2 separate regions of the Homo sapiens genome follow, and region 2 is linked to region 1. Evidence: promoter capture Hi-C in 16 types of primary human blood cells and fetal thymus (Javierre and others, 2016). All regions are on one chromosome and are shown on one strand. The core of a region is centred on a gene start or on the middle of the fragment in contact, and the rest is flanking DNA. Distances in the headings are between cores, read along the strand shown.

What was found. The method cuts DNA at HindIII sites, captures the fragments that hold promoters and counts their contacts. A CHiCAGO score of 5 or more calls a contact.
Region 2: a contact is called between a fragment that was not itself captured here and the fragment with the promoter of MVB12B in region 1, in 3 of 17 cell types (total CD8 T cells, naive CD4 T cells and naive B cells). The highest score is 7.1, in total CD8 T cells.

The regions. Positions count from the first base shown.
Region 1 is chr9:126,325,081-126,328,104 of GRCh38, reverse strand. MVB12B (multivesicular body subunit 12B) reads right to left here and starts at 1,276. Exons shown (of 10, transcript NM_033446.3): 1 at 1,095-1,276. The coding sequence starts at 1,175. RefSeq lists an enhancer at 59-710 and a silencer at 1,152-1,291. The HindIII fragment of the contact is 4,126 bases long and covers 36-3,024 here.
Region 2 is chr9:126,555,469-126,558,473 of GRCh38, reverse strand. No RefSeq gene overlaps it. Among named protein-coding and RNA genes, the nearest start is that of LMX1B-DT, 57 kb to the left of the region's middle. RefSeq lists an enhancer at 1,012-1,588. The HindIII fragment of the contact is 1,176 bases long and covers 713-1,888 here.

The DNA of each region.
Region 1 (3,024 bases), core at 27-2,526:
GGCTTCACAGAGCTTATTTTTTAACTCTCTAAGCTTTCCTGGTGCCGCTGATAAGATTTCCCAGCCCTGTTAAAACGAGATGAGATCCAGCCAGCTGTCGAGAAATGTACAATGAGATTATACTGAGAAGGAACCACGAGAGACAAAGGCCCCTAAGAGGAGCTGGTCTGCTGTCTGCTTTTGTGGCAGCAATCGGAGTGGGCTCTGGTTCTTGGGTGGGGGCAGGAAGCAGGGAAGGGGCAACCACCATTTGCCTTTTGCCCTCCTGTGGTCTTCCTCAGTGCCTTGTGCAAGAGGTGTTGAGGGGCAGGGAACAGAAGAGTCTCATCTTTCATGGTGAGAAGGGCTGCTGATTTAGAACAGTTGTGTGTTGGTAACAAAGAGGACAAAAGATGCTCTTGGGTCTACCCCGTTCCCTGGTGCCTGCCTCTGAGGATGTGATGTCCCCTGGTGCCATGCCTCAGCTCTTGTCCCAGCCCCTGCTCCTCCCGTCTCGCTGGTGTTGGAGTCACTGTAGGGTGCTCGACGTGCCCACCATGTTCCTGGATGGGTGCTCTGGGTCTCGGGTACCCAGGCTGGGCATGTCACCTTCCAGACAGGTGCCTGAGGGTTTAGGTGTCCTCTCTGCTGTGCCCAGGTCACAGAGGCAGTGATGCTCCTGGGGCAGGTGCACGTTGGTCTGCACCCACGTGACCAGAGAGAGCAGGACCCCAGGCCAGGCCGGTCAAACGATTGACTGTTCCCAGTCTGTGCCCAGGTGGGCCGCCTCCCTCTCACGCGGGCAGAGGTGGCTCTCGGCGCCCCTCACCTGCCCGGGCCTTGGGGGCGCTGCTGGCACTCGGGTCCCCCAGCTTCTCCCGCCTCTCGCCGCCAGGCCGAGCCCGGGCACCGGCAGCCGCGGCGCGCTCGGGGCTCTGCAAAGGCCGCCCGGGCCTGTCCCCGCCGCGGGCCGGGCACGGAGCCCGCAGGCCTCGGCGCGGCCCGGCTCCTCCCGTCCGCCCGCCCCTCGGCCGGGGGCCCGCGCCCGCCCGCCCGCCCTCCCGGCTGCAGGGCCGGCTCCGCCGAGCCTCCGCGGCGCCCGGGCCTCACTTAACTGTTCCCCGCTGGGGCGGCGGCGGCGGTGGCTGCGGCGGCGGCGGGTCCCGGCTCCGTCTCACGCAGAAGCAGCTTCTCATCGCCCGGGCGGCGCGGGAGGGGCCGGGCCCGGGGCCCAGGCGGCAGGAGCCGGCGCCGCAGCTCGAGCGCGAGCCTCACCGAGAGCGGCGGCGGCGGCGGCGGCGGCGGAGGGGCGGGGCGCGGCCTGGCGGCGGCGGCGACAACGGCAGTGGCGGCGGCGGCTCCCTCCGCGGGCCGCGGCGGCGGGCCGGGCTCCGGGCCTCCCGGCGCTGGCGCTGGTTCAGGATCGGGGGAGGCGCCCGGCGCCCGAGGCTGGCTCGGGCGGGAGGAGGGAGAGGGAGCCCTGGCGTCCCGAGCCCGCGCCGCCGCCCCGGCCGGCACCCCGCCTCCCCAGCCTCCCCCTCGACCCAGCCCGTCAGCCGCAGGCAGGGCCCCGGTGCGCCCACCCGGGCCTCCCCGAGCCCGCCGGCGACCCCAGTCCAGCCTCAGGCCCCCGGGAGCCCACGGCCTCTAGAGCCTGGGGCATCGATGGTCCCCGCCCCCAGGCTGGTCTTTTCCAGGGACCCTCAGCCCACTTAGCTCTCGTAGGCCTCGCTGTACGCAAGACCGGTCTTCCGCTCGGCTGCAGATCCCTGGAAGCCCCCAGGCCCTCAGGCTAGAAGTTGGACCCTTCTAAGGACTCTCCGCCCACCCAGCCATTCTAGGCTTCACTGAACCCTAGAATCCTTCAGCTCATCTTCCCCCACCCCCCAGCTCACCTAAGGTGAGCTCAGCCAGTCGTCTCAAACTAACCCCAATTGCCTAGCAATTCTCTTATATTAGTTAGATGATTTATCCCCAGAAGCCTAGAATCAGGTTTATGGGGCCAGCCTCAGGCAAGCATCTAGAAGAAGTTTTTAGCAGGAGTCCTACCCTGCAGTACTTGGGGAAGGCATAAGCCAAGGATAAAATGGAGCTGGATGGTTGGGGGAGGGTCCAGAGCTTGACCCTCAGCTAGAGTGGCTGGTAGGAAAGGCGGACTCTGCGCCTTAACCAACCATGCCCCCCACACCGCCCAGCCAGGCACCCCAGGCAGAGGCCAGCGTGTGCAAGATTTGAAAGGTTTCCTGCCAGGAGGCTGGAGCATTCGTTAGGACTTGAGGACCATGCAGGAGTGATCAGCATTGATTTGCTAATGCATTGAGTCTCATTTTCACACATTCTAGGCTTTTCCATAATAGCTGTTTGATCCTAAAGAGAAGGGTGCCAAGCAGAATGGGCTGTCGGGGGAAACATCCTGTAGGGAAGCCATGCACGTGTGCATTCCCAGTGTCTTCACTACTCAGAAATGCCATGGGTTCAGATGGCTTTACAGCAAGCCTTATCCTCCCATCAGGGCACAGATCATCCCTATGTTACTTAAACTGTTACACAGGAAAAAATAAACAAAAGAAACAAAAATTTTTATTTCATTTCCCAAGTTTAGCATAACCCTGATACCAAAATCCAACAGACAATACCAAAAAGAACTGCAGATGACTAACCTAGAACACGAGTCCCCAGAGAATTTAATATTTATTTTTTGAAAATGGGCTTCTGTGGGCAACTTGAGAAAGTGCTGCATGCCGTTTATAGTGTACCTTTTGGAGAATCACGATAAGTATTCGTATATTAAGGAAGGCCTCTGTGAAGTCCAGGAGTAAAGAAACCTGTTTGGTTTGTTTAACCTGGCATTTCCCAAACTCATCTGAGCCAGGACCACCTTCTAAAGCTCACTGATAAATCCTCAATATGTGAATCTGCACTATATATTTAAGTATATAATAGTCGTAAAACTATTAAATACAATTTTAGCCATTTGAATCCAGTTTACTATTAAAGCAACTGAAAACCCACCATGATCAAGCAAGATTTATTCCAGAGGCGCAA
Region 2 (3,005 bases), core at 51-2,550, 230 kb before region 1:
TTTTTCTTCTTTTAATTTTGCTTGTTACTAGCAGAAATCACATGATTGGATTTCTTGCTTATTATCCATGTCTCACACAGAAGTGTCAGCTCCAAGAGGGCAGGAACTTTGTCTTTTGTGTTTACTGACAAATCCTCAATGCCCAGGCAGGTCCTCAGAAAACACTTGCAGAATTATTTGATCCTCTTCCAAGGGGACAAATGAAGCCTGGTGCCAGCTGTGATGCAGTGCCCCATACCAGCCAGCAGATGGCAGCAGAGAACAAGGCACCTGACCGGTGGAGCCCAGGTGAAGTGCGCAGGTTTGACCTTCAAGGTTGGCAAAAGAAGGGGAGCTTCTGGCTGTGTGTGTTGCGGGGGAGCGGGGGGGGGGGAGGGGAATGGGGGTTGGGGGTGGTGGTTGGGGGTGGTGGTGGTGGTTATGCATCTTTTTGCACCTTCTCCCCCTAACCACTGGCCAGGCCTAAGGATCCCAATCTGCTGGAAGGCAGCCTTTTCTAGTAAAATACAAAAACAGCTATCATTGATTAAGCACAAAATTAAGCCAAATACATTGTTTCATTCTCACAACAGCCCTATTATTAGCCTCATTCTGCAGACCGGAAACTGAGGCGCCATAACATGCCCCAGGTTACACAGCCAGTGAGGCACCAAGACTGGAAGGTGACCTGGGACCCATTCCTGTCACCACCATGAGATAGGGCCTCCAAGCTTCTGTTGCTCTATGGTGGACTTGGGGGGGCTGCCCAGGAGGAGGTGAGCTCCTCATTGCCGGAGATGTGCAAACTGTGCCTGGTAGGCGTCTGCTGGAGAGGATGTACGGGCACCCAGATGCCCAAAGCCACTCCTGGCCAGGCAGGACCCAGAGCAAAATGAAGTGTGGGAATGTCCGCTCCAGAATTACTAAGAATTTCAACACAATGACAGGAGAGTATTAAGCCAGGGGCAGGACCCTTCTGAGTTCCAGGGTCTGTGTGACCACACAGGTCCAATGCCCTCCAAGCCAGATCTTTTGGATCGGAGGAAGAAGTGTGAGGAATGGGTCTCAGGGTCATCTCAAGGTCAGTACCATGCTAGGGGCCTGAAGGGATGGGCCTTGTGAAGTCAATGGGATGGAGAAGACAAGGAGTGGACTCGAGTCCCCTCCAGTCCGAGTTAGGAAGCCCGTGGAGACGTCAGCAGTCCAGCTCTGCAGGAGTTCAGGGAAACGTCCCCTGCGCACATTTCTTCTCGTAAGACAGGGCTTGCATCCCCGCACCTTTTATCTTTCCCTGCTGCCTGTGATTTATCTCCACGTGAAGGGCTGGGGCGGCCTCGGAGGCAAAGGGCCCTTCTGATGGTCCATGAATCTTTCCTTTGCCGATCCTCTGGTCACTCTCTGCGCGGCCAGGCGGGCCCACCACTTCCTCTCTGCCAAGTGAGGATTAGGGAGTCATAAAACAAGGAAGCCAAACCCCTGGCCAGCAGAGCGCACACATGGGCCTCAGATGCCGGCAGAGACATGAGGGCTGCCGGGACTTGAGCCTCAGAGGAGGACTCCTTCTTTGGGGGCCGCTATTCCCAGGTCCCTGCTCCATGGGGGGACTCCCTGGCCAAGCCTGGGGTCAGAGCTGGTCAGGACCACTCCTAAGGGGAGAGAAGGTCCCAGCTGAAGCCAGAAGTGGTCCCGGCCCACACCAGGGGGAGAGGGGCTCCAGGCTGAACGGAGTGTGCGGGCGGCCCTCAGAACGGGGGAGCACCCGCCATGTGCCGGGCACCAAACGCATGTCATTCTCATTCCCCCCAGGGCTGCCATCCTGGGGCTCCTGGGGAGAAGCCCCTTGCCAAGGCCCAGAGCCAGGAAGTGGTGGGGGCTGGGATCTGAACACAGGTGAATAGACAACAAAGCTTTACACCAAAGAAAAATAGTAAAACCATTATATTGGAAAAACAGGTGATTTATTCCCTAAATGTTATCTTTTTTAAAATCCTATTATAGGCCGGGCGCGGTGGCTCATGCCTGTAATCCCAGCACTTTGGGAGGCCGAGGCGGGCGGATCATGAGGTGAGGAGATCGAGACCACCCTGGCTAATACGGTGAAACCCCGTCTCTACTAAAAATACAAAAAATTAGCCGGGCGTGGTGGTGGGCGCCTGTAGTGCCAGCTACTCGGGAGGCTGAGGCAGGAGAATGGCGTGAACCTGGGAGGCGGAGCTTGCAGTGAGGTGAGTTCGTGCTACTACACTCCAGCCTAGGTGACACAGCAAGACTCCTTCTCAAAAAAAAAAAAAAAAAAAAAAATCCTATTATAAAAAGCATGTGGTACAGAATTCAAAAGTGGTATAAAATAAGATAATAAGGCTTTGAAGTGTCTGTCTTCCTCTCTTTCGCTCCCCTGTTGTCCACAGGTCCCTGGCCCCTCCCAAGAAGCAACCACTGATACCGGGGACTTAGAGATTTCCAGAGAGAGTCTACAGGTTGCAAATACCTGCTATTTCTTTTTTTCTCTTCTATATAAATGGTAGCATTCCGTGGACAATACCTGCACCTTACTTTTTTTTTTTTTTTTTTTTTTGAGACGGAGTCTCTCTCGTCACCCAGGCTGGAGTGCAGTGGTGCCATCTAGGTTCACTGCAGCCTCTGTCTCCCAGGTTCAAGTGATTCTCCTGCCTTAGCCTCCCAAGTAGCTGGGATTACAAGCGAGAGCCACCACACCCGGCTAATTTTTGTAGTTTTTTCGTACAGACGGGGTTTCACCATGTTGGCTGGGCTGGTCTCGAACTCCTGACCTCAAGTGATCTGCGCCAGCCTCAGTCTTCCAAAGTGCTGGGATTACAGATGTGAGCTACCATGCCCGGCCTGCACCTTATTTCTTCTTCCTTTTTTTTTTTTTTTTTTTTTTTTGATGGAGTCTCCCTCTTGTGGCCCAGGCTGGAGTGCAATGGTGAAATCTCAGCTCACTGCAACCTCCGCCTCCCAGGTTCAAGCGATTCTCCTGCCTCAGCCTACTGAGTAGCTGGGATTAC